Linked DNA regions of Homo sapiens: all the other regions are linked to region 2. Evidence: promoter capture Hi-C in 16 types of primary human blood cells and fetal thymus (Javierre and others, 2016). All regions are on one chromosome and are shown on one strand. The core of a region is centred on a gene start or on the middle of the fragment in contact, and the rest is flanking DNA. Distances in the headings are between cores, read along the strand shown. Region 1 overlaps FBXO45 (F-box protein 45). Region 2 holds the start of NCBP2-AS1 (NCBP2 antisense RNA 1). Region 3 has its middle 29 kb from the start of LINC01063. Region 4 has its middle 9.5 kb from the start of SMCO1. Region 5 overlaps WDR53 (WD repeat domain 53).

What was found. Contacts are between HindIII fragments. The CHiCAGO score rates a contact against its expected background, and 5 or more counts as called.
Region 1: a contact is called between a fragment that was not itself captured here and the fragment with the promoter of NCBP2-AS1 in region 2, in 5 of 17 cell types (neutrophils, naive CD4 T cells, M2 macrophages and 2 more). The highest score is 8.1, in neutrophils.
Region 3: a fragment that was not itself captured here is called in contact with the fragment with the promoter of NCBP2-AS1 in region 2 in 9 of 17 cell types (fetal thymus, naive CD4 T cells, naive B cells and 6 more); the score reaches 10.3 in fetal thymus.
Region 4: a fragment that was not itself captured here is called in contact with the fragment with the promoter of NCBP2-AS1 in region 2 in 3 of 17 cell types (endothelial precursors, erythroblasts and megakaryocytes); the score reaches 6.7 in endothelial precursors.
Region 5: a contact is called between a fragment that was not itself captured here and the fragment with the promoter of NCBP2-AS1 in region 2, in 5 of 17 cell types (M2 macrophages, neutrophils, naive CD4 T cells and 2 more). The highest score is 6.3, in M2 macrophages.

What each region holds. Positions count from the first base shown.
Region 1 is chr3:196,576,452-196,579,151 of GRCh38, forward strand. FBXO45 (F-box protein 45) reads left to right here. Exons shown (of 3, transcript NM_001105573.2): 2 at 1,002-1,358. Among named protein-coding and RNA genes, the nearest start is that of FBXO45, 9.1 kb to the left of the region's middle. The HindIII fragment of the contact is 1,674 bases long and covers 574-2,247 here.
Region 2 is chr3:196,938,489-196,941,379 of GRCh38, forward strand. It overlaps NCBP2-AS1 (NCBP2 antisense RNA 1), which reads left to right and starts at 1,389. Exons shown (of 3, transcript NR_046630.1): 1 at 1,389-1,639; 2 at 2,486-2,654. NCBP2 (nuclear cap binding protein subunit 2) reads right to left here. Exons shown (of 4, transcript NM_007362.5): 2 at 763-944. The HindIII fragment of the contact is 10,665 bases long and covers 1-2,891 here.
Region 3 is chr3:196,602,488-196,605,187 of GRCh38, forward strand. No RefSeq gene overlaps it. Among named protein-coding and RNA genes, the nearest start is that of LINC01063, 29 kb to the right of the region's middle. The HindIII fragment of the contact is 2,060 bases long and covers 222-2,281 here.
Region 4 is chr3:196,523,416-196,526,277 of GRCh38, forward strand. No RefSeq gene overlaps it. Among named protein-coding and RNA genes, the nearest start is that of SMCO1, 9.5 kb to the left of the region's middle. The HindIII fragment of the contact is 949 bases long and covers 1,128-2,076 here.
Region 5 is chr3:196,557,978-196,560,869 of GRCh38, forward strand. All of the region lies in intron 3 of WDR53 (WD repeat domain 53), which reads right to left. Among named protein-coding and RNA genes, the nearest start is that of WDR53, 9.1 kb to the right of the region's middle. The HindIII fragment of the contact is 8,026 bases long and covers 1-2,892 here.

The DNA of each region.
Region 1 (2,700 bases), core at 161-2,660, 360 kb before region 2:
ATGGGAGTATCACTTGAGCCAAGGAGTTCAAGGCTGCAGTGCGCTACGATTGTGCCACTGCACTGCAGTCTGGGTGACAGAGTGAGACGTTGTCTAAAAAAAATTTAAAATACACAAACTAAAAGTTTAAAATTGTTTATGAGAAATTGTTATTGTTTGTATAGAAGAGCTATTTTCATACCCTCTTTATTTTGGAAGTGTAAACCTTTGTATTTACTGAAGAGTCAACTAACTTGTCTTATTGATAGCTTCTCTTCATAAATTCTAGTAGTTGAACCTAGATGCTATCTAAGGGATTATTTGATTTGGTAAAATGAGATTGGTGATTTTTTTATTGTGTAAGTCATATCCAGCAAGTAGGCTGAGGATCTAAGGTAGTTTGTGTTTACTAAAATTTTTCATAAACTTTAGAGCTGCTAGGATTAAAGTTTCTGTTTTATGTAAAATATAATTCTTTTTGATGACAGCATTGCCCATATGAAAACTGTACATCTCAACTTTTTGGTATAAAAATATCAAATATAAACAAAAGTAGAGAAAATAGTTTGATGAACTTCCTTATACCCATCACCAAGCTTTGCCAATGATTAATTTATGGCCAGTCTAGTTTCATGTTTCTATTGCACACTCTCCCACTCCATCTCTGGATATTTCAAAGCAATTCCCAGATACCATTATTTTATCCATAAACGTTTCAGTATTATCTGTAAGATATAAGGATTTTTCTTTTTTGTATCTTTTGATGTTTTAAGAAGTCTGTTTGAGGAAATACTACAATTTAAAATTTTGGTCAGTGATGAAACGGTTGGCATTTATTTTTTAATGTTATTTATTCTGTTAGTATTCCATCCTGAAACTTCAGCCATTATTTGGAAATACTTGTGTTATTTTAAAATATATAACTTCGTTATTTAAAAACATACAGCGTGAAGTTTGGGTAATTTTTAATATTTAAGAAAAATAAAATTGTTATTTATTTGGTCTGTTTTTCATCTTTTTAGATACGTGCTTTTCAACATGCCTTCAGCACTAATGACTGCTCCAGGAATGTCTACATTAAGAAGAATGGCTTTACTTTACATCGAAACCCCATTGCTCAGAGCACTGATGGTGCAAGGACCAAGATTGGTTTCAGTGAGGGCCGCCATGCATGGGAAGTGTGGTGGGAGGGCCCTCTGGGCACTGTGGCAGTGATTGGAATTGCCACAAAACGGGCCCCCATGCAGTGCCAAGGTTATGTGGCATTGCTGGGCAGTGATGACCAGAGCTGGGGCTGGAATCTGGTGGACAATAATCTACTACATAATGGAGAAGTCAATGGCAGTTTTCCACAGTGCAACAACGCACCAAAATATCAGGTGAGAAACTGGGGTTTTTCTCAAGTATGGGCCTTTGTCAAATCACGCCTTAATTTGTTTTAAATTTACAAATTTTTATATAGCAGTTTTTGTCTTTTTGGTAATTTTTATTTTTATTATTTTTTTATTTTTTCAGATACCCAGACTTCAAGGAGATTTTTTTTTTTTAATGTTAGGGGGTTATAGTTAATTTTGTTGGGTGTTATATTTTGATTTTGGCTATGCAGAAAAATATTCTTTTTTTTTTTTTAGACAGAATCTCACTCCGTTGCCCAGGCTAGAGTGCAGTGGCGCCAACTCGGCTCACTGCAACCTGCACCTCCCAGGTTCAAGCAATTCTCTGCCTCAGCCTCAGTAGTTGGGATTACAGGCGCCCACCACCATGCCTGGCTAATTTTTGTATTTTTAGTAGAGACAGGGTTTCACCATCTTGGCCAGGCTGGTCTTGAACTCCTAACCTCGTGATTCACCTGCCTTGGCCTCCCAAAGTGCTGGGATTACAGGCGTGAGCCACCATGCCCAGCCTCAAGGAGATTTTTTGACCATTTTTAAATAAATGTATAAATGATCTATCTCAATATTTGTTTCCTAATACAACTTTAAGCAGCCTATTTTTGCTCCAGATCAGGGGTTGGCAAACTTTTTGTAAGGGCCACGTAGTAAATCTTTAAGTCTTTGCAGTCCATATGGTCTCTGTCACAACTTTTTTTTTTTAATGTCATTTTCAAGGTAAGGATCTATCACGAGTTTCAACTCTATTTATAGTACAAAAGCAGTCATCGATAATACGTAAATGAACGAACATGGCTGTATTCCATAGACCTTATTTATGGGCTGCAGGACAGATTTGGTCCAGGGGCTGTAGTTTGCCAGTTCATGCTCTATATCAAGCTTGTCCAACCCACAGCCTGCATGCAGCCCAAGATGGCTTTGATTGTGACCCAATGCAAATTCATAAACTTTCTTAAAACATTATGAGATTTTTTTGCAATTTTTTTTTTTAAAGCTGATTAGCTATCTTTAGTGTTAGTGTATTTTATGTGTGGCCCAAAACAATTCTTCCAGTGTGGCCCAGGGAAGCCAAAGGATTGAATACCCCTGCTCTAGATGGTCATCTTTCCTGTATCACGGCACATCCAAATCTTTTTCTAGGCTCCTTACCCCAGTAAATACAGCTCTGTGCATGCACATGTTTGTGGATTCAAAGCCCCTGGAGGCATCAGTGAGTTCTGCAGAGACAGGCAAATTCAGGCAAACTGCTGTATTTTTTATTCTTTTCATCTTAGGCTTAAGGCATACTCATTTGACTCAAGTTAAAATTATAGTTCCTATTTGTAAAAGC
Region 2 (2,891 bases), core at 139-2,638:
AGAACATAGGATAAATCCAAGAGGTCCAATACTTAAAAGAGTCTGAGTAAGGGAATTAAATGATCAAAGTAAATAGTTTTGGTTTGTACCTATACAGTCAGGTTATATACATCTATATAATGAAATACTATACAGCTATTTACTTAAAAGTTTTTTTCTTTAAAGATGGGGTCTTAACCCGTCACCCCCGCTGGAACACAGTCACAACTCAGTGCAGCCTTGAAATCTTGGGCTCAACTGATCCTCCTGCCTCAGCTTCCTGAGCAGCTGGCACTACAAACACCAGCCACCATGCCCAGCTGTACAGCTATTTTAAAAAAAGACCTACATATGCTGAAATGGAACAATAAAAAATAAAAAAATGATTTTAAAAACAGCACATGAAATACACTACCGCACACCCACAGGGTTACTTCTTGAAAGACGCCCAAGAAACTGGTAACTGACTGCCTCTGGCAAAGGGCATTAGGGGTTTAGAACAGTACGAGATTTTTATATTTTCACTACATTCTTTGGAATTTTTTTTTTTTTACGTGAAGGGCAAACATTCTTGAAAAACTTTTTGTTAAAGAACCATAAAGCATGGATTTCAGAAGAGAATATAAATAGTATCAGCTTTACAGTATAAGGGCAGAGACACACTGGGTGGAAAGTAGGAGGGAGATGAAGGAAAACGTAGGGACGAGTGCAGGGACGCTTATGAGCTACCACTCTCAGCTCTACCCTGGTTCAGCAGCTACATTAGATCCATGGGAAGGATACTCCACAAAACAGAATCCACATGCTGTTTTCTTCATTTTATCCAGACCCATAATGATTTTCTTTATGTCACCACTTTTGCTGAAGAGTTCATAGATTTGTTCTTCAGTTGTGTAAAAAGAAAGATTTCCAACATATAACGTACAGCTTTTCTTCAGTAATTTTTCTTGTTCTTCATTGTCACCCTAGAATTTCAAATAGAGACAAAAGTTAAGCAACTTCAGAGCCTTGCTTAAATAGTATTTCTAAGTACGGTAGAGACATTCATTAATTCTGGTTTGGAAATCAACTTCTCTCATCCCAGCCTACCAGAAATCCCTTGCCCAAAAAGGGGGATGTCGACCTTCTGTGAAGCACTTATGCGAAGTCCAGACTCTTAGTAGAGACAGGGCTCAAAAGTTATACCACATACAACAAAGTCACTTCTACGCCCGACTGCCACGCAAGCGGCTTCCCTTTTCCCTGCACACACCATATCCTCAGCAGTGCATCCTTTAAACCCAAGTGTAGACTCTGGACCTTGACCCAATATATGACAAAGGGCCCTTTTATCCTTCGTAGTGAAAAATAAGTGGGTTTTCAGAGAGAGAGAGAGTTCCTCTTTAATAACCCCCTAGAGACTGTTGAAAGCCACAACCTTGATGCTTTACGTGCTCATAGATCTTTCTCTGAGTTTAGGGGAAAATGTAGTGATCACTAAAAACAAAACAGAGCTCACTTTCTTAATGGGCTTCCAAATTGGGATGACAGGATGAAGCCAGAGACTTAAGCATATAACTGGGCTTCATCCAACACACCTGACAGACAAAGCCCTGGGTCCAAAATGGCTCATCGGGGTCAGGCGCGGTGGCTCATGCCTGTAATCCCAGCACTTTGGGAGGCTGAGGCGAGTGGATCGCCTGAGGTCAAGAGTTTGAGACCAGCCTGGCTAACATAGTGAATGAAACCCTGTCTCTACTAAAAATACAAAAATTAGCTGGGCATGGTAGCAGCGGGCGCCTGTAATCCCAGCTACTCGGGAGGCTGAAGCAGGAGAATCGCTTGAACCTGGGAGGTGGAGGTTGCAGGGAGCTGAGATTGCACCACTGCACTTGAGCCTGGACAACAAGAGTGAAACTCTATCTCAAAAAAAAAAAGTCCACAGGACAATAGTCATTGTATGTTAAAAAGAGGTTTTCGGAACTTTGGAGTGAGACATTAGAGAAAGTAAATTCCTTTCATTTTACTGCTGTTACTGATTTGTGAACATGGAAAGGAGGCATCTTCTTTTTCTACTTTTCTCACACATGTAAGTAAGATCCAAATAAATAGCCTACAGTTTAAGATAACTGTGGTGTAAGTGCTTAAAGTATATTAATATGGATTCCATTCACAGAATGCTAGAAATTCCACATGACAGTATGGCATTAGCATCTAAAAAAAGCTACAGGTTTAGACTGAGGAGATGAATAATAGACAAAGTCAGAAGGTTCCAGTTTTCATCTCACAGGATGCTTTAAGTTCAAAATGGTCAGGATGTGGAACTGTCTAAAGTAGTAACTAAAAGTGGTAGAAGTGCAAATCATGCCTGGCACTTAGGCATCCCAGCACTTTGGGAAGCCCCAGGCAGGTGGATCGCTTGAGTCCCAGAGTTCGAGACTGGCCTGAGCAACACAGGGAGACCCTGTCTCTACAAAAAATTAGCTGGATGTGGTGGCGCGAGCCTGTGGTCCCAGCTTCTCAGGAGGCTGAGGTGGGTAGGATCACTTAGGCTCAGGAGGTTGAGGCTGCGTGAGCCGTGATTGCGCCACTGCACTTCAGCCTAGGCAATAAAGCGAGACTCTGTCTCAAAAAATAAAATACATTAACTGAATAAATTTTTTTTTTTTGAGAAGGAATATCGCTCTGTTGCCCAGGCTGGAGTGCAGTGGCGCGATCTCACAGCAACCTCCACCTCCCCGGTTCAAGCGATTCTCCTGCCTCAGCCTCCCGAATAGCTGGGATTACAAGCGCCTGCCACCACGCCCGCCTAATTTTTGTATTTTTAGTAAGACGGGGTTTCACCATCTTGGCCAGGCTAGTCTTGAACTCCTAACCTCGTGATCCACCCGCCTCAGCCTCCCAAAGTGCTGGGATTACAGGCGTGAGCCACC
Region 3 (2,700 bases), core at 2-2,501, 340 kb before region 2:
TGGGATTATAGGCGTGCACCATCAAGCCTGGCTAATTTTTCTATTTTTAGGAGAGACGAGGTTTCACCATGTTGGTCAGGCTGGTCTCGAACTCCTGACCTCATGATCCCCCTGCCTCGGCCTCCCAAAGTGCTAGGATTACAGGTGTGAGCCACCACGCCTAGCCAAAACTTTATTCCTTTTAGCAATTTGTAGAATGTATAGCAATTTAATTTTTACCAAGCTTTCCCAATATTCCATTTATTTATTTATGTTTTCATTTCAGGCAATGTTTATGTCCCAAATGTCAAAAAACATTTTAAGGTTGGTTTTTCTCTTCCAACCATGTTTTTCTGGTTTTAAAAGTAATCTTTATTTTTAATTAATTTATTAATTAAATTAATATAAATTAATGTGATAGAAATTAGGATAATTTAATTACTCTTAGTTAATATGTGCATTATAAGAAACCGAAAAACACAAGAAGCAGAGAACAAGGCCGTCCACAATCACGAGCAGTTTGCAGTTGACCGTGTCCTTCCAGGTCCCGTGTATGTACAGACACAACACCCAGTGGATCGTGCTTTGTCACACAACATTCTGCCCAATTTTAAATCCGTTTTGCTGCCTCCTTGAGATTCTGTGACTCTAGTGGCTTGGTTCCCACAGGTATCTCCCTTTGCAAATCTATGCTTGAAGGTTTCTCTGTCATGCTAAGTCAGTGACTATTATTTTTCAATTCTGACATCTTTGAAATATGCAGAAGAGACCAGGCGCGGTGCTCACGCCTGTAATCCCAGCACTTTGGGAGGCCGAGGTGGGCGGATCACGAGCTCAGGAGATCGAGACCATCCTGGCTAACACGGTGAAACCCCGTCTCTACTAAAAGTACAAAAAAATTAGCCGGGCGTGGTGGCGGGCGCCTGTACTCCCAGCTACTAGGGAGGCTGAGGCAGGAGAACGGGGTGAACCCGGGAGGCGGAGCTTGCAGTGAGCCGAGATCGCGCCACTGAACTCCAGCCTGGGTGACTGAGAGAGACTCTGTCTCAAAAAAAAAAAAAAAAAAAAAAAAGAAATATGCAGAAGAGTAAAGAGAATAACAACAAACACCCATCTGCTCAATGTTCAGCTTTAGCAAATCTTAACCTTTTGCCAAATTTGCTTCAGATATTTTTTTCTCAGAAACGAAATATTACAGATACAGTTGAAGCCTCTTATACATCTATGCCTGTGATTTGACTCCTTTCCCTCTCTCTCCAGAACTTGACACGTGTCATTGCTGTGTTTGTTTTCATGCTTTTCTGTAGTGTGATGGGTCCCCAGCCAAGTTACTAAAGAGTGTGTGTCTGCTGCCTGAACCCTGAAGGCCAGGCCATGAGCCAAGGCCACAGTGCCCAGCAGAGGAGCAGGTGTCCCTCAGAACCAAGCGTCCCGGAGGGTTTCTAAGAAACTACCAAGAAAAACAGTCCATCACTCACACAGTGGGCAAAGAGCCAGAAAATTAGCTTAAAGGCAGCTCAAGAGTGTGGCCGGGCACGGCTCATGCCTGTAATCCCAGCACTCTGGGAGGTCAAGGTGGGTGGTTCACGAGGTCAAGAGATCGAGACCAGCCTGGCCAACATGGTGAAACCCCATCTCTACTAAAAATACAAAAATTAGCTGGGCGTGGTGGCATGAGCCTGTAGTCCCAGCAACTCAGAAGGCTGAGGCAGGAGAATCACTTGAATCCAGGAGGCGGAGGTTGCAGCGAGCCAAGATCACGCCACTGCACTCCAGCCTGGAGACAGAGCAAGACTCCGTCTCAAAAAAAAAAAAAAAAGAGTGGGAAAATGGGAGGCAATGCAGGTCTCTAAAGCTGTCCTGCTACTGCCCAGGAGGCCTTGTATGTAGGTCCAAATAAACTCATCTACTTGCCAAGCTGGACGTGTCTCAGTCATTCTTTGGTCTCTCAGCCTCCTCCTAGTTTGGGAAAAGGTTTTTTGTTTGTTTGTATTTTTTTAATACAATTCCAGGTTTTCTTTGTTATGTTTCTACATATCCATTGATCTATAAAGAAGGCTTAGCATTTTTTGCATATTTCTAAACCATATACAGGATATATACACATGCGTGTGTGCCACGAACCGTTTATGTCCTCCTGCAACTTCGTGTTCTTGTGATTTATCCATTCCTAAACATAGAACTGTTACTTCTTTTTTAATTGCTGTACAGCAGAGGTCCCCAAACCCCAGCACAGGTGCACAGCCTGTTAGGAAACTGCGTCACACGGCAGGAGGGGAGCAGCAGGCGGGTGAGCAAGTGAAGCTTCATCTGTATTGACAGCCGCTCCCCATCACTCGCATTACTGCTTGAGCTCCGCCTCCTGTCCGATCAGCGCCGGCACTAGATACTCATAGCTATGTGAACCCTATTGTGAACTGAGCATATGAGGGATCTAGGCTGCATGCTCCCTATGAGAATCTAATGCCTGATGATCCATCAGTGTTTCCCATCATCCCCAGATGGAACCGTCTAGTTGCAGGAAAACAAGTGCAGGGCTCCACTGATTCTACATTATGCTGAGTTGTATAATTATTTCATTATATCTTACAACGTAATAATAATAGAAATAAAGTGCACAATAAATGTGATGCACTTGAATCATCCCAAACCATCCCCCACCCCCAGTCCATGAAAAAATGGTCTTCCAGGAAACGGGTCCCTAGTGCCAGAAAGGTTGGG
Region 4 (2,862 bases), core at 352-2,851, 410 kb before region 2:
ACCTCAATAAGGAATGGAGACTAGTTCAGGACCTCTGCCTCATTAATGAAGCTGTCGTTCCAATCCATCCAATGGTACCTAATCCCTTTACACTGTTAACTCAAATACCTGAGGGAACTAAATGGTTTACAGTCCTAGGTTTAAAGGATGCCTTTTTCTGCATACCGTTACATCCTGACTCTCAATACCTGTTTGCCTTCAAAGATCCCTCCAGCCAGACCACCCAGTTAACATGGACGTTGCTGCCTCAGGGATTTTGAGATAGGCCTCATCTGTTTGGACAGGCACTGTCAAAAGATGTCTCTGAGTGTTCCCATCCTCAAATTAGGGTCTTGCAGTACGTTGATGATACTCTGCTCTGTGCCCCAACTAAGGAAGCTCCTCAGGAAGGCACTGAAGCTCTTCTTAACTTCTTAGCTAACAGAGGATATAAGGATTCAAAACCCAAGGCCCAGCTTTGCAAAACCTCGGTGAAGTACCTGGGTTTAGTGCTGTCCAAGGGAACTGGAGCATTAGGGGAAGAAATGATTCAGCCTATTTCTTCCTCCCTTCTCCCTAAAACCTCAAGCAACTAAGAGGATTTGGGGACATTACAGGATTTTGTAGACTATGGATACCTGGGTATTGTGAAATAGTCCACCTGTTATATAACCTCATAAAAGAAGCTCAGGGAGCTAAAACTCATCTTTATTTTATTTTATTTTTTTAGATGGAGTCTAGCTCTGTCACCAGGCTGTAGTGCAGTGGTGCAACCTCCACCTCCCGGGTTCAAGCAATTCTCCTGCTTCAGCCTCCGAGTAGCTGGGATTACAGGCATGCGCCACCACGCCCAGCTAATTTTTGTATTTTTAGTAGAGACGGGGTTTCACCATGTTGGCCAGGATGGTCTCGATCTCCTGACCCCGTGATCTGCCCACCTCGACCTCCCAAAATGCTGGGATTACAGGCGTGAGCCACCACGCCCGGCCTAAAACTCATCTTTTAATCTGGGAACCTGAAGCTTGAAAGGCCTTTGACCAGCTAAAACGAGCCTTGCTTAAGGCACTAGCTCTCAGCCTTCCTGTAGGGAAGACTTTCCATCTGTACGTATCAGAAAGGAAGGGAATGGCCCTGGGAGTTTTAACGTAAGCTTGACGAGCAGCTCAACAGCCAGTGGGTTACCTAAGTAGGGAACTTGATTTGGTGGCTAAAGGATGGCCAGCATGCCTTTGAGCCATTGCCTCAGTAGCCCTACTGGTCCCAGAAGCCCCCAAATTAACCCTGGGAAATGATTTAACTGTTTACACCCCACATAACATGGCAGGACTACTGTACTCTAGGGGGAGCCTTTGGCTAACAAACAGTCGACTCCTTAACTATCAGGCCCTGCTGTTAGAGGGTTCCAACATCCAATTAAAAACTTGTGCAGTGGCTCACGCCTGTAATCCCAGCACTTTAGGGGGCCGAGGTGGGTGGATCATGAGGTCAGGAGTTCAAGATCAGCCTGGCCAACATAGTGAAACCCCATCTCTACTAAATACATAAAAATTAGCCAGGCATGGTGGTGGTGCATGCCTGTAGTCCCAGCTACTCGGGAGGCTGAGGCAGGAAAATCACTTGAACCCAGGAGGTGGAGGTTGCATTGAGCTGAGATTGTGCCACTGCACTCCAGCCTGGCGACAGAGTGAGACTCCGTCTCAAAAAAAACAAAAACAAAACCAAAAACAAAAAAATTGTTCTCGCCTAAATCCAGCCACTTTCCTCCCCAAGGAAACTAGGGAACCTGAACATGACTGTGAACAAGTCCTGATACAGACCTATGCAGCCAGGGAAGATCTCAGGGAAACCGCTAGAGAACCCACACTGGACCCTCTTCACAGATGGGAGCTCTTTTGTAGAACAAGGAATCCATAAGGCAGGATATGCAGTAGTCACTCTAAATGACGTCATTGAAAGTGTGTCTCTCCGTCCAAGCACTCAATTAGCTGAGCTGATAGCTCTTACTCGAGCACTAGAATTAAGCAAAGGAAAGGTAGCTAACATTTGCACTGACTCCAAGTATGCTTTCTTGGTTCTTCATGCTCATGCTGCCATCTAAGCTTTCTTTTAAATATTTTCAGTATGTCCAAGAGAAAACACCTGCTTCCGTTTATTTAGCGGTAATAACCTATATGGACTTAAAAATTTTTTTTGTACAGATGAGGTTTCACCATGTTGCCCAGGCTGGTCTTCAGACTCCCAAAGTGCTGCGATTACAGGCGTGAGCCACTGCACCCGGCCAACATTTTCTTTTTTAGAAACAGGGTCTCACTCTGTTGCCCAGGCTGGAGTGCAGTGGCATGATCACGGCATACTGCAGCCTCGACCTCGTGGGCTCAAGTGATTCTCCTTCCTTAGCCTCCCAAGTAGCTGGGACTACAGGTATGCACCACCACGCCCAGCTAATTTTTTTTTGTTTTAATTTTTATGTACAGACAGGCATCTTACTATGTTGTCCTGGCTGGTCTCCAATTCCTGGGCTCAAGTGATTCACCCGCCTTGGCCTCCCAAAGTGTTGGGATTACAGACATGAGCCACCACACCTGGGTTATTGTTGGATTTACTGAAGAAAAGGGGCAGGAGAAAAAAGTTAAATTACGACAAATCTCTAGGTCAATTAGAAGCCATATCTCTGGGATATTTTAAAAAATCAGTCTTACCGCTTCCGACTCTAAAAGTTAATGCCATTAGTAACAACAGCAGGAAAAATAAACCTGATAAAAACCAGCCCATTCATTTTAGCAAAAAAGCAGTTTAACTCAAAATACTTAGACCAAAGTATAACACTACGTACCCAAGGTGCCCCACCCACCAGCAAGAAGAGAAGAAATAATTGCTTTAAAA
Region 5 (2,892 bases), core at 333-2,832, 380 kb before region 2:
TGTTGCCCAGGCTGGTCACAAACTCCTGAGCTCAAGCGATCCACCTGCCATGGCCTCCCAAAGTTCTGGGATTATAGGCATGAGCCACTGCGCCTGGCCTAATGTTATCCTTTACACCTCATATATATAAATATTACTTTGTACCTATTAAATAAAAAATTAAGCAGTCTCACGTGTCTTAAAGAACCACACTTTGCTTTTAGGGTCCCTGCCTCTTTGAATGCGCTTTGCCTATTTTATTTTTTTGAGACAGGGTCTCACTTTGTCATCCAGGCTGGAGTGCAGTGGCGAGATCATGGCTCACTACAACCTCCACCTCCCTGGGCTCAGGTGATCCTCCCACGTCAACTTCCTAAGTAGCTGGGACCACAGGTGGATGCTAGCACACCTGGCTAATTTTCGTATTTTCGGTAGAGATAGGGTTTTGCCATGTTGTCCAGGCTGGTCTCGAACTCCTGGGCTCAAGTGATCTGCCTGCCTTGGCCTCCCAAAGTGCTGGGATCCCAGGCATGAGCCCTCAGGCACATAAGCTACCACACCTGGCCCTGCCTAATTATTTAAACCTAAGTCAAAAGACATAACTTTATAATTACTGTTACATAAGAAAAAAGATAGGTATGCTGAACATGGCAATCATTCAATTCCTGCCTTGAGATAAAATTTGTTTGCTCAGAGAGAAGTAACTCAAAATAGTCAGAACTCCCTTCCACTATTACTGTGCCTACATTCTTGGGCTCCCCCATAGACTGGCTATCCTTAAAGTTTAGGATAATACTGGATCAACAGGTTTTAGGAAGACAACTGTGGAAATAATTATAGAGTTTCAACTTCAGTTAAGGAAGTCATTTCTTAAAAGCATGGTTGTATGGCTGTTACATCACAACCCAGTGTAGAAACAAATCTACCATGAACCTTTAGCAATTTTACCAGGCAAATCAAAATAAGAAATTACCTGAGCCTCCCTTTTTCAAAATACTTGTTTCCAGGGCTGTTCACTAGCAAGTGCCTGCCACTAAAACGTCTTACCTGGAACTGGGGGCAAGACAGTAAATTCTGAATGCCCATTCCTCATCTAATCTGAAAAGTACACATCACTTTTGCGTACCCAATTGTCTATTGCCATGCCTAGTGGTTAATGAACCACTGATGGAAAAGTGGTACAGCTGAAGGATGACAGAATGACTACTCAAAGACACACTGTACAATCTGCCTACTTAAAACATATCCATCTGGTTGTATAGGTCTTTCTTTACAACCACAAGGGCAGATTATCACCACTAGGGTGGAGAATGTAGGAGATTTATAAAGGGCTTGGTCAAAACCTAGGAGTGGAAAAGGAAGATAGAGGTTGTAGGGTCACTATGCCCCATACATGTAGAGTGAGTCTCAACCCAGGCACTACAGATGTTTTTGGGGAGACAATTCTTTATTGTTTGGAGACTATCCCAGCACTGCAGGACACCCACTGATTCTGCCTACTGAATACTGGTAGCTTGCAGGAGAGGGGAACAGCATGGTGACAACAAAAACAGTCTCATCATTCTTCAGTTATGAGGGGTATGCAGGGTTGGGGAGGGAAAGGTAAAGACCACTAGCCAAGAGGGTGGAAGTCATAACTGATGCTATTAAAAAGAACATGGAATCTTAGAAGATACTGTATGTAACTGAGAACAGAGATTAAATGCCTGAACAGTGCTGGACACATCGGTCATTCACAATGGTTCTCTCTCTAGAAGCCACCTGACCCCAAACCAAGAAACTTTTCTGTGACATTATTGATGATACTCTGCTTGAATACCTGTCATCTTAGAGAAAAAACATAGCCTTTGGAGCCAGAGAGATTGAGGTTTGAATCTCAGTCAGGTGGCAATGTAGATACTTCATGTGAATTTCAGTTTCTTTATTTATTAAAAAAAATAACTAGGAGGGTGTGATTAGAATTAAAACTAATATACACAAAGCATTGGCAAGAACTAAGTGCTCAACAGACAGAAATCATGACGACTCACTCCAGTGATGAGATTTACTCTCTCAAGAGGAAGCACATCCTGCCATGGGAACGTTCAAGCTATTTGAAAACGTTTACATTAAGCCCAAATCTGCTTTCCCATGACTTCTCTTATGAAGACCAGCACATTCCATTTTTTCCCCTCATGAAAACTAAGAATTAAACACCTCCAGTTCTCTACATAATGGGTTTCTAGATACATCTACTCTCCTGATGGACTTCCTCTGTATTTGGGCAATTTGTGATGCTCCTTTCTTTTTTCTTTTTTTTTTTTTGAGACAGAGTCTCACTCTGTTGCCTAGGCAGGAGTGCAGTGGCATGATCTCGGCTCACTGCAACCTCCACCTCCTGGGTCAAGCGATTCTGCTGCCTCAGCCTCCCAAGTAGCTGGGATTGCAGGAGCCCACCACCACGCCTGGCTAATTTTTGTATTTCTAGTAGAGACAGGGTTTCACCACGTTGGCCAGGCTGGTCTTGATGACCTCAAGTGATCTGCCCACCTCGGCCTTCCAAAGTGCTGGGATTACAGGCGTGAGCCACCGTGCCCAGCCGTGATGCTCCTTTCAAAACTCAGCATTGAATACAGTGCTCTGATCCTGATCACCAATACACACTATTTCAGTTAATGTACCCCAGAACTTTAAAGTAAAAACAGACCCCTCTAACTTTTTGTTTAAACAGAGTTTACAGAGAGTGGGTGGACCAACTCTGCCTTTAGTACTCACTGTTTGTTTAAACAGATGTTTACAATCAAATATTTGCATTTTCAGGTTTTAGGAGTATCTTACAGTATAGAGAAAGGAAAAGTAAAGGATTAATGATTACTTTGTGAATAAATTCTATTAGGTTTTATCAGACTAGCATTAAATGTAGAAATAAGGCTT